Regions from separate parts of the Homo sapiens genome. Here all the other regions are linked to region 1. The links are contacts of gene promoters, found by promoter capture Hi-C in blood cells and fetal thymus (Javierre and others, 2016). All regions are on one chromosome and are shown on one strand. Each heading gives the region's core, a stretch centred on a gene start or on the middle of the fragment in contact. The rest is flanking DNA. Distances are from core to core; before and after follow the strand shown. Region 1 holds the start of SLC18A2 (solute carrier family 18 member A2). Region 2 has its middle 9.8 kb from the start of LINC02944. Region 3 overlaps RAB11FIP2 (RAB11 family interacting protein 2).

Evidence for each region. Contacts are between HindIII fragments. The CHiCAGO score rates a contact against its expected background, and 5 or more counts as called.
Region 2: a contact is called between a fragment that was not itself captured here and the fragment with the promoter of SLC18A2 in region 1, in 2 of 17 cell types (total B cells and naive CD8 T cells). The highest score is 5.5, in total B cells.
Region 3: a contact is called between a fragment that was not itself captured here and the fragment with the promoter of SLC18A2 in region 1, in 1 of 17 cell types (neutrophils). The highest score is 5.4, in neutrophils.

What each region holds. Positions count from the first base shown.
Region 1 is chr10:117,239,001-117,242,928 of GRCh38, forward strand. It overlaps SLC18A2 (solute carrier family 18 member A2), which reads left to right and starts at 2,114. Exons shown (of 16, transcript NM_003054.6): 1 at 2,114-2,220; 2 at 2,679-2,814. The coding sequence starts at 2,694. SLC18A2-AS1 (SLC18A2 antisense RNA 1) reads right to left here and starts at 2,997. Exons shown (of 3, transcript NR_184310.1): 1 at 2,885-2,997; 2 at 2,661-2,783; 3 at 1-1,181. The HindIII fragment of the contact is 8,499 bases long and covers 1-3,928 here.
Region 2 is chr10:118,229,784-118,233,711 of GRCh38, forward strand. No RefSeq gene overlaps it. Among named protein-coding and RNA genes, the nearest start is that of LINC02944, 9.8 kb to the right of the region's middle. The HindIII fragment of the contact is 2,668 bases long and covers 616-3,283 here.
Region 3 is chr10:118,030,399-118,034,326 of GRCh38, forward strand. The region is part of intron 3 of RAB11FIP2 (RAB11 family interacting protein 2); the gene reads right to left. Among named protein-coding and RNA genes, the nearest start is that of CASC2, 14 kb to the right of the region's middle. The HindIII fragment of the contact is 1,183 bases long and covers 1,033-2,215 here.

The sequences.
Region 1 (3,928 bases), core at 864-3,363:
AAGAGAGAGATAATAATTTTATACATAAAGGTCAATAAATACAATATACCCTATTTAAATATATGATTAAAAAACTCATTTTAGATGCCAACTTGAAAATGTGTAAGGCAAACATATTGTTAAACATTTTTTAGGGGGTTTCAACAAAAAGTCTGTTATAGGCCATAGTGCTCTAGGGGTGGTGACAGTGATCCGGAGGCGGGAACGCCGGGCTGGCATTGTCCCTGGAGCCATCTACATCCAGCTGGCTGGGCTGGAGTTTGGTGTGGCTTCCAGTGTTCACTGCTATGATGCTGCTATCAGGTCAGAATGTCAGCAGGGATTTGTCTAGGCTTTACTGTCTCCCCAGCATTAACCATAGTGCCTGGCACGTAGTAAGAGCTCAACACATATTCAGCGCATGAATGAGGGGCCGGCACTTACGGAGCTCTCACTTTGTGCCAGGCACTGTGCTAAGAGCTGCCTATGCATTCCCCTGGAATTCTCACAACCACGCTGCAGTAGGTCCAGTGAGTATCCCCATTCCAGAGATGGCGAAACTAAGCCACAAAGAGGATACATAACCAGCCCAAGGCCACCAGTCAAGGAAGTAGCAGACTGGGACCTGGGCATCCTGGCAGGCACCCTTTACCATAATGCCTCTCTGTCCCCATGTGGTCCCTGGGGTAGAGTCTGCATCCTTGGGTTCTGAAACTCCAGAGCAAGCACTCTGGGGCACTCCCTGAGTGATACCCTCCTGCCATCTTAAACGGCTCTCTGCCATCTGCTTCCTCCTCCTAAGTGGTTTTCCTTCTGTCCTCCCTGTTTAATGTTTAAGTTGTGCACATCCTGTGACATCCTGGAGACCCATGTTCCTGACCTACTTACCTATTCAACCATCTCTTCTCACACATGGGGTAGCAATGAGAAGCACAGGGGGTCTCTGCAAGGGAGTAGGGAGGTGGAGAGAGCGGGGGCAGCCACACATCACACTGCTGTTCTCAGTGGCCTCCTGCTGTCAACAAGCTAACATTAATAAAACAAGCCCACTCTTCTGCTAAGAGACTGTGACAGGGTAACATTTATTCTAGGTAGCTTTTCAAGAAAACAGCTCTTGCTCCCACGGTCCCCTCGGAGGGCCTGCAGAGCTCCAGCGATGTCAGAGGGCATCTGTTTGTTTCTCCTTTGCTTATAAAAGGGACCTGGAAATCAAAGGCAGGCTCTTAGCCCTTAGCAGTGAGGATGACAGCTCTGCACCAGCCACACGCAGGCCCCTGGCTCTAGGAACCACCTCTCACCCAGACGCCCAGGCACAGCATGGTGGGGAGAGAGTACAGGACACAGGGCCTAGGCCTGCTGCCCCGCCCACAGCCCGCCCCCTAGCCCTTTCTCTGAGGCCAGGTGTACTCACCTAGCCTCCAGGGTCCCCTGCTCAGGTGGCCCCAGAGGCCCAAACCCACTGCTCCCACTTTCTGAGACCTGGGACCCTCACCTCCCCAACTCCCACCATAGGGCGACACTGAAAAGTGTCCCCTTCCCCCCCCCGTTTCCAAGTCACCAGCTTGAGGATGCCCAAGGCTCAAAGGCTCCTCCGAGTGGCACCCCGCATCGGGCTGCAGAGGTCGGAGAGGGGAGGGGATGGTGGGTGCAAAGGGTGGCTTCTTCAGGAAAGGGAAGCCTGTCCCTGGCTCCCAGCACCTGTCACCCCTGGCGATCTCACCCCGCGGCCATCATTCCCGTCCTCACGGCCCATTTCAGGGACACTGAGGCTCAAAGAGCCACGTGATTTATTCAAAGCAGCTCGAGCCACCACTTGGAGCCACAAGAAAGCCCTGGTCCGTGCCTCCTCGCCTTGGTCCCTGGCCCTTCACTCTTCGTCCAGGCTCTCTGACCTCTTTCCCTCTGCGCCCCTGCCTCTTCCCCAGGCCTGGGTCCCCAAGGCACTCGGCCACGCGCTGGGTCCGGGGAAGAGGCGCGGCCGCGGCCGAGGCGGGGACAGGGAGGCGGCAGCCCCTCCTGCGCAGCGACGGCGCGGGCGGGCGGAGGCCGGGGCGCCCCAGCCCCCCGCCCCCGCTCCCTCCGGCCGTGACGTCAGAGCCGGACGGGGTAAACTGAGCGGCGGCGGCGGGGCGCTGGGGCGGAGACTGCGACCCGGAGCCGCCCGGACTGACGGAGCCCACTGCGGTGCGGGCGTTGGCGCGGGCACGGAGGACCCGGGCAGGCATCGCAAGCGACCCCGAGGTAACACGGCCCCGGTTCCCTGCTCGCAGGGCGCGGTGCCGGAGGGGAGCGGGCCCGGGGGAGGCAGGGAGGCAGGGAGGCCCCCAGAGCTACGCGGGCGGGGCTGCGGGGACCCCGGGGCAGCCGGGGCGCAGGGCGCAGGGCGCAAGGTGCACGGGGCCGAGCGTGCAGTTTGGGAGGTGGCACAGTTGGGGGCGGCGGGGATCAGGGCAGCGTCCTGGGGGTTCTAGGTTGGGTCTCCAGATTGGGTCCCCGACGGCGCTCGCGGGCGCTCTTTCCAGGGAGCGCGGGCTCTCGTGGGGACGCGCTCGAGGCAGGTGAGCCGAGGCTGGGGCGCCCGGGGGTGTCCCCGGATGCCGGTGCGCGCGGCTCCCTGACCCGCCCTTCCGCGGCCTGGGGGACGGGAGAATGGGGGGTCCACGGCCGCCTTGGGTCCTCACCGCGCACCGCGCCCGCAGCGGAGCCCCGGAGCCATGGCCCTGAGCGAGCTGGCGCTGGTCCGCTGGCTGCAGGAGAGCCGCCGCTCGCGGAAGCTCATCCTGTTCATCGTGTTCCTGGCGCTGCTGCTGGACAACATGCTGCTCACTGTCGTGGGTACGTGCGGACAGGGCACCCCTGCCCCGGCACCCCAGCCCCAGCGCCCCTTCCCCGGCACTCCACTTACCCCTGCGCGGTCCCGGAGCTCCGCCAAGGCCCGGGAAAGTTGGAGAACTCGCTTTGCAAAAAAGACATCCCCTCCAGGCTGCCGCGCCGGGGCTAGGAGGAGCCGCGTTGTGTGGCTTCGCTTTCCTGATGCTCGGGTCAAAAACTGTGACATCCGATAAGACCCAGAACTTATGTTTCCCCCTGATAATTTCCCGCATCCTCTTGCCTGCTTTCACTGCGATGAAAAAGATTTCTGTTCCAAAAGAGAAATTCCTAAAGTTCAAAATTACGTGTTAGAATAATTATTGGGCTACTCGAAAAGGCAGGTTAGTAATTTGGTGTAGTACCTAAAAGAGCAAGTTTCGATCCCTTACTCCAAAAACAAGACATTTAGATATACTGTATTAGTGAATGACTTGAGATGGAAATATTTCAGGAACCATTGCAAGAACAATTTGAACAATCTTGGTTCTATTATTTTTCCTATAGTGGAATTTTGAAAAATTAAATAATCGAAATCCAGGTCCCTTAATTAGGCCCATTAACAGAGAAGTATTTGGCATGCATTTCCTTAAAAAAAAAAATCCCAGTTTTTAATGAATGAAAAAAAAATCACGACTCATTTAGACTGTAAGTGGTGGGAGCTGTTTCCTTTCTCTCCATTTGCAGGTTTTCTCACAGCAGTTTTCAGAGCATCTGATAGGTTTCATCTCGAGGAGTTATCAGAGCCGTGGAGCTCATCCCTGTTCAGTACCAACGGCATTAGTTCTGCTTCGGCTCGAATGCTCCATTGGACACATGTGCTCACAGCTTCGATTATATGTTTCACAATTTAATTTGTATTTTTTGTTGTTGCTTTTTATTTTGGTTTTTGTTTGTTTTTTTGAAATGGAGTCTCACTCTGTTGCCCAGGCTGGAGGGCAGTGGCACAGTCTTGGCTCACTGCAACCTCCACCTCCCGGGTTCAAGTGATTCTCCTGCATTAGCCTCCCGAGTAGCTGGGTTACCGGCATGCCCCACCAAAGCTGGCTAATTTTTGTATTTTTATTAGAGACAGGATTTT
Region 2 (3,928 bases), core at 700-3,199, 990 kb after region 1:
CACATTAATCACAAAATATTGCTACCCCTTCTGTTCTTTTTACTTTACCTCCCATCTCAATGGCCTGCTGTGATTGCTATAAACACTTCTGAGTTATTAAATCTTTAGATGTTATTGTAAGAACATGAAGACTTCTATGGTATAATGATCAATTATATTTATAGGCAGTATTTACCCTAAATAGAAATAAAATCTGAGGAAAAACATACTTCAAAGTGGCTGGGCGTGGTGGCTCACGCCTGTAATCCCAGCACTTTGGAAGGCCGAGGCAGGCAGCTCACAAGGTCAGGAGATTGAGACCATCCTGGCTAACAGGGTGAAACCCCGTCTCTACTAAAAATACAAAAAAAAATTAGCCAGGCATGGTGGTGCGCGCCAGTGGTCCCAGCTACTCAGGAGGCTGAGGCAGGAGAATCACTTGAACCCGGGAGGCAGAGGTTGCAGTGAGCCGAGATCACGCCGCTGTACTCCAGCCTGGGCGACAGAGCGAGACTTTGTCTCAATAAATAAATAAATAAATACATACATACATACATACATACATAAAAATAAAAATACTTCAAAGCATTGAAAGATAATAATTCTGATGTAGCTGATTATGATACATTGAAGTGAAGCTTTTATCGCCCTCCTCACATCCAGAAGTAGAATTACTGTTCCCTTCTGTTAAATCCATATGGCTTCTATGACTGCTTCAACCAACAAAGGGATGTCATGCCATCATTTATCTGCATTGGCATTCCTTCCAACTGATGAAGTTCTGGGAGCTGTCTGATGAACTAAAGCTGCATTTGCCTGAAGAAGACAACAAAGTTACTAACTGGTTGGAAAATAATTATGTGTTTGGTAGGATAAGAAGTGACTTTCCCAATGGTGTTGCCGTCCCATCACCTGTATCGTTTCTGCCAGATCTGTGGCCTGTATACAAGAACATGGGGAATGGATTTCCACATGCGTAGATACATACATACAAAACAACATAGAAGCATAGAACAAAAAATGGGAAAATGTAATAGGGAAGTTTCATGTCAGTGTATATCGAATCACAGAAGAATTTCAAAAAGAGCAATGCTACATAGAAAATGGATGGGAACATATTTTCTGAGGACCCATGCCCTAAAAAGGAAAAAGCAGCTATTCATCAAGATATAAGCCTTCAAAATATTGTCAATGATCATGAACACCAGCCAGTTTTTATGGACTACCTCTGAAATTAATTGCCCATAACCTATCCCTGTAATGCACTTTTGCATATGTCAAATTTTCTTTTTAGTTTTTGGGGAAAGGGGTTGTGTTATTTTCTTGTCCCTCCCCCCCCCCCACCACTATTTTAAATTGTTGGTATTTTTTTTTATAACTCATTATGCTATGTATTTCATCCTGGCATTATTTCCAATACTGGAGGTATAAACTCTATAAAGACTTTTAGAGTTCTACTTTGCTTTATGCAATTTTTGCAAATTTGACTCCATGAAAGTGCATCATCATGATACTGACCTTGTGTGTAAGCATTATGTATGTGCGCAAAAACACTGAAATTTCCTCAACAAATGAAGAGTTGTCTTTTTTGTACATCTGCATTTGTGAAAGATGAAATTTCTCCATGTCTCATCTCTTTAGATGACTGCATATGCGGTAGTGATTCCTTGCGGTTTTTGATCTTGTCAAAGACTTAGGTTGTTGTCAAGGTATTTCAGATGACTGCAGTTACAAAGCTGGGTGCAATTGGGTTTTTACATTTTCCTTTTGACCTATTCCTTTATGAATATGGTTCATCTGCTCGCAACTGTTATATCCATGTGACTGTCTTTAGCACTCGAATATTTATGCTTGCAAAAATATATATGTTATTATTGACTATTTTACTGTTTAAAGTGGTGTATAAAGTATTGTCATGTTTTATATTTTTCTCAAATAAATCCCCCTTCAAAAATGTAAATGAACATCTTTTAAGGAAATTTTTATTTTTCTGAATTGTATTTCTGGAATTTTGATATTTCAGGATTCCAATATTTGGGATTATGGAGTTTGGAGTGATATCTTCCAGGATTATGGCCCAAACTTGGTGTAAAGGGATTGAGAGAGTAACATCCCGAGAGCAGTGGTCCCCAGTTCAAACTCATTAATTCACTCATTCAACAAATGCTTACCTATCTTAAGAAAGAGACAGGCCCTGAGAGTTGAAGCAGAGAGCAAGGTAGGTACACGCCCTGATTGCTTGGAACATACAACTTGTGGGGAGACCAACATCAACCCATCAACCCCAGGTGTAAATGTAAAATCCTACCTGTGGGAAGTGTCTCTGACTAGAGATAGCCTGTGCCACACAAGCCACAGTGTCTGAGGCAGCCAGAGAGGCAGAAACACTGAAGACTTCCCTCAAAATAACCATTGCATGTGACCCATGGGTGCATGAGCAGACTGCTAAGACCAGAAACTGGATTGCAGTAGACCGAGGACTAGGTGGAAAGGGGAAAAATGGAGACAATGAGTTGGGATATCTCTTTTTTTTTCTTTTTTTGAGACAGAGTTTTTTGCTCTTGTTGCCCAGGCTGGAGTGCAGTGGCGTGATCTCAGCTCACTGCAACCTCCGCCTCCCGGGTTCAAGCGATTCTCCTGCCTCAGCCTCCTGAGTTGCTGAGATTACAGGCACCCGCCACCATGCCCAGCTAATTTTTTTGTATTTTTAATAGAGATAGGTTTTCATTATGTTGGCCAGGCTGGTCTCGAACTCCTGACCTCCTGGCAGTGATCCACCCGCCTCAGCCTCCCAAGGGACATCTCTTAAAGAGGTTTGGTTGTTCAGAGGGGATGGTAGCTGGTTGGGGGGTGGGAATTCAGGATGGATTATTTTTATTCCGTGAGATTTGCACATATTTAAAATCCAATAGACAGGATCCATTTGAGAAAATGTTGAATATACGAGAGGAAATGGATATTAGTCAATAGTGTGCATTTGCTCAGAGGACAGGAGGAAGAGGGACTCAAAAGCACACAGTTAGGACAGCCTTTTAAACAGGAGGAGAGACGGCTTTAATTATTGTAAAACAGAAAAGGATGTGAGAGAAGAGAACAGATGTGGGTACATTTATATGTGTGGATTGTGAGAAATGGGTAATTCTCAGCTGAAGGCGTCTACTTTTTCTGTGAAGTAAAAGAAGTAGCATGGTGAGGGTTCAGGGGTATTTGCAGTTGGAAATTTGCAATCTTACCTGAGTGACAGAAGTCACTCCAGCTATTTAAACAGAGATAATTTAATATAAAGAATTGTTAATAAGACCAAAGCTTATTAACTAGATAACTGAGAGATATAAAAAGATCATTCTAAGGCATCACACAGCCATGAACTATTCCTTTGAAGGGATAGACCATAATTTATCCAACCATTATTTAATGGTTGAACATTTTGGTGATTTCTGATTTCTCACTGTTCTACATGATGCTTCTGTACACATCTTTGTGTATACTAGCTCTTCTGTACTCAGAATATTTCCCTAGAAAAAAATGACTCAGACAGAATTATTGGGTCAACAGGCATAACTTAAGAAAAAGTATGACGGTCTCTGGAGTTGGAAAATGACTGCAAGAAGCACAACTGAATTCATATCTGGTTGTCTGGTGGATGGGGTCACTGAGAGTGCAAAACAGGAGGGAATTTTGTTCTTGATCCTTGGTAGGGGAAGACAATGGGCAGGGCTTCATCTGTCCCAAGTTTTAGCACCTTGGCTAAGCCCCATGACTGGTGTCTGAGTCTCACAGATGGGTGCTGAGGGTCAGGGGTCTTCCCCTTGTGTATTAGTCCGTTTTCACACTGCTGATAAAGACACATCCAAGACTGGGTAAATGACAAACAGAAGTTTAATGGACTTACAGTTCCACATGGCTGGGAAGGACTCACAATCATGGCGGAAGGCAAGGAGGAACAAGT
Region 3 (3,928 bases), core at 374-2,873, 790 kb after region 1:
CGCTACGTGTTATCCAGTGTCCAGTGCCTAAGAGCTCGTTAATTACCTAAACTATATCTCCATAGGTCTTGTTAATTACCCGTCTCCTGTCTCAGAGGACCTTGTTAATAACTTGTACAGTCTCTCTAAAGAGGTCCTAACAACACATTAAAATTAAAGATGCTTTTCTTTTAGCACCTGTCAAGTGCTGTAAATTGAGAAATTTTCACATCAGTTTATTAGCCTACACTAGTTTTTGTGAATTTTTTTGGCCTGTTTTCTTCTCTCTCAGAATCTTGCTATATCTCAATCTCTCAAGAAAAAAAAAAAACCAGCAAAGTTTGTCTTTTTTGTTACAGAGCTTTTTTTGTTTTCAATTTTGAAGACTCTAAATATCAATTTGCATTAGAGTTAGCACAAGGATGGCATCGCTGGTATCTGCAAATTAACCCACTGGGAGATACACCAATTAATGAGAGCTATTATAATGAGTATTAGGATGACAAAGGGTAAAAAAGTTTCAAGTAGTATCTGGGGAGTTAAACATAAAAGTTCTAGTTAGTGTTAAGGGAACTAATCACGTTGCATACTTCGTGTTTATAGTCATTGTTTCATTGGATACATTCTGTAAATCTCTGAGCACTAATGGATTAATGGGTCTAAAAATCATCTCAAAAGTTTTTGTCTTCTGTCTCATAAATGAAGCCACAAATTTTCAAGTGTGTAAAAGATTTATAGCCTACCATGAATAACAGGCAAATTATCTTTAACACTAGACAAATATGAGCAAAAAGTAAATATTGCTATTAAAACAAATCCTTTGCATATTAAGGTTTATGATGCCAACGACTGAACTTTAAACTCATTCAGGAAAAAAAAGTCCATTGGGACATTATAAAAATGAAGGTTTAAAAACTATCAATAGGCTCTTTTTCTTTAGGATCATTTATTTACTATACTTTTTAAAAATCAAAATGTAAATTCTACAGTAAACAGTCTTTGACTTTTAATGAACATGTTACACAATTTCATAAAAATGGCTACATGCTTACAAGCTTATGGTGATTTGAAAATTAGAAAGACATTTAAATATACATTCCAGGTAACCAATTTTTTTGTACCTCCTGAGGAAGGTATGATACAAGCACAGACAGGAATTGACTCATTAAGGAAGGAAAGAAGGAAGAGGGGGAGAATCAGGTAGACCTGACCTCAGAAGTGGAAGGCACACTGCCATGAAAAATCACTAAAACATTACAAGTCTGCATCTTAGATACTATTTCTGTACCATCCTAAAATATAACTATTTGGCGTGAGATCATCTGCTAAAAAGGAGGGAGGCTCTTCCACCAAACATTAAAAATGGAAATACATGCTTTGGAAAATCAATTAATACTAGAAATAATATTACAGAACATACCATTTAGTTATTCAGGAGTAGTTAAGAATTTGCTACATGGCATTCACAACTACCACAGTAGAGCAGAAAATAATGGAGTGAAAGCATGTTCTTTCTATGAGTCACAAATAGAAGGTCGGTCCCCAAACAAAATTCTCTGGTAAAAATATCTCCCATTAAATTATTACTCTCAGAACAGCTGCCCCCCTAACATCAAACAACAGAAACTCATCACACAGAGTAGTAGGCTTATATTGATTTTTTTAAAAAAATTCAGAATAAGACATACATAAGCAATTTTCTCTAACAGACAGAAAATCTTACTCTCTCAATCTTATTCTCTCAAGCAGAATTCCCTTCAGTAGGTGGAGTTCTGTGGTCCTGAAATTTTTCAAGGAACTTACACCTCCTTCAAAGAATACACATCATGGAATTTCTCCTCAATTTACCATGGGTAGCATACAAATAGAAGCATATTTTTAAGCGTCATTCATCACTATTGACTCTCAGGTTTTACCTCAATCCTGAGAAACAATTCATTCATAGATGCCATAAATATTTAATAGACTTTTCTGCCTGGTCTTCAATGCTCACTATAATTTAGGGTGTGTGTGTGTGCATTAGGTGCGTGCGTGCGTGTGTGTGTGTTTAACCTATTCAGCCATATCTTTTACTCCTTTCCACCATATCTCTGTTTTAGCCAAGCTAACTTCCTTACTATACCCTCTACCTTAGTTAGGGACCTGCAAGCAGAGCTAATATGACTAAGTTGTCTAATTTAAGTACGCATTTGCCAGCACAATTCCTGATCTCCATTCACAGTGAATACTTACTGAAAGCTTAGGAAATAAAGTAGTCCCATCCCCTTATCTGTGGTTTTGCTTTCCACAGTTTCAGTTAACCACCATAGTCCAAAAATATTAAATGGAAAATTCCAGAAATAATTCCTAAGTTTTAATTTGCGTGTCCTTCTGAGTAGCCTCATGACATGGTAGGCCATCCGATTCTGTACTGCCTGGGATGTGAATCATCCCTTTGTTCAGTCCCTTTGTTCAGTGTACCCACACTGTCTACACTGCCTGCCCATTAGTTACTTAGTAGCCATCTCGGCTATCAGGTCGCCTATTGCAGTATTACAGTGCTTGTGTTTGAGTAGCCCTTATTTTACTTAATAATGGCCCCAATGTGCAAGAGGAGTGATGCTGGCATATTGTTGTAATTGTTCTATTTCATTATTATTGTTACTCTCTTACTGTGCCTAATTTATGAATTAAACTTTATCATAGGTATATATGTATAGAAAAAAAAACACAGGATATATAGGGTTCGGAACTGTGCCTGGTTTCAGGAATCCACTGGGGGTCTTGGAATGTATCCCCATAGAGTAGGAGGACCACTGTAGGTGATATAATATAGATTAGCAATTTTTAAACCCGATAGTCAATGGGAAGTTATTAAAATGTTGATTTTCATTTCAGGGCCTACTCACTAAAGATTCTAATTCAGTCAGAGGGGAGGCCCAACAAATTGTAGCTAAAAAAAAATAATCTCCAGGAGCCCTTGATGATCAGCACTGAGGTCATGCACAAATCTAGGTGCTGTGGTGCACCCAAGAAAGAGGATTCTGCACAACTGTTATGAAGCTTACACAGCTTAATATAAGACCTAGTACAATAAACATTGTATAGTAATTACTTCTTCTATATCAGCAGAAATCCAAAGGGAAACACGAGGTTATTACTCAAAAAAGAACACTCAGAGATGAGTTGAGAGTGCACCCCACAATTGAGCCCGGGAATGAAGACGGCATGGCTTACAAGGACCTCAGTGTAGAGACATGGCAGTAAGGAAATTAACTTACCTAGAACAGGTTGGTGAGGAACAGTAAAAGAAAACTTGGAAGGTTAAGAAAAGCCTAAAATACAACAAGCCTTAGAACGTTAGAAAGAGGAGTTTGGATTTGGTGTTGCAAACCAGTAGTTCTTAAACTTTTTTGACTAGGGCTTTCTTAAACACAACGAAAGGTACTACAGCCCATGTGCCCTCCTCAGTAGGATAAATAATGCTAAGTGCTCTAATAAATATATATATAAATCTCAGTAACTTATATCCTGTGAATTTATCATTTGGACAAGGGCCACTTGGCTATTCCTCGTCAGGTGGGCCTTCCACTTGCATGCAGAGACCCAGGCTGCTCCTACTTACAGCTCTGCCCATCTCAAAGATCCTCTCCATTCAGCTACTGCAGGGGTCAGCAAAGTATTTCTGTAAAGCCCAAACAATAAATAGTTTTAGCTTTGTGGGCCATATGGTCTCTGTCACAACTACTCAACGCTACCACCGTACACAATTATGACGATAATGCGGCTGTGTTCGAACAAAACTTTACAAAAACTGGCAGCAAGCCAGATTTGGCCTCCAAGCTTAGTTTGCCAATCCCTGGTCCAGGATATGGAGGAAGAGGCAAAACGGAGGATTGTGTTAAGAGTGTTAAGAGGACATTCCATGGGCCAGACCTGAAAGTGGTATACATCTCTTCCATGAACTCTT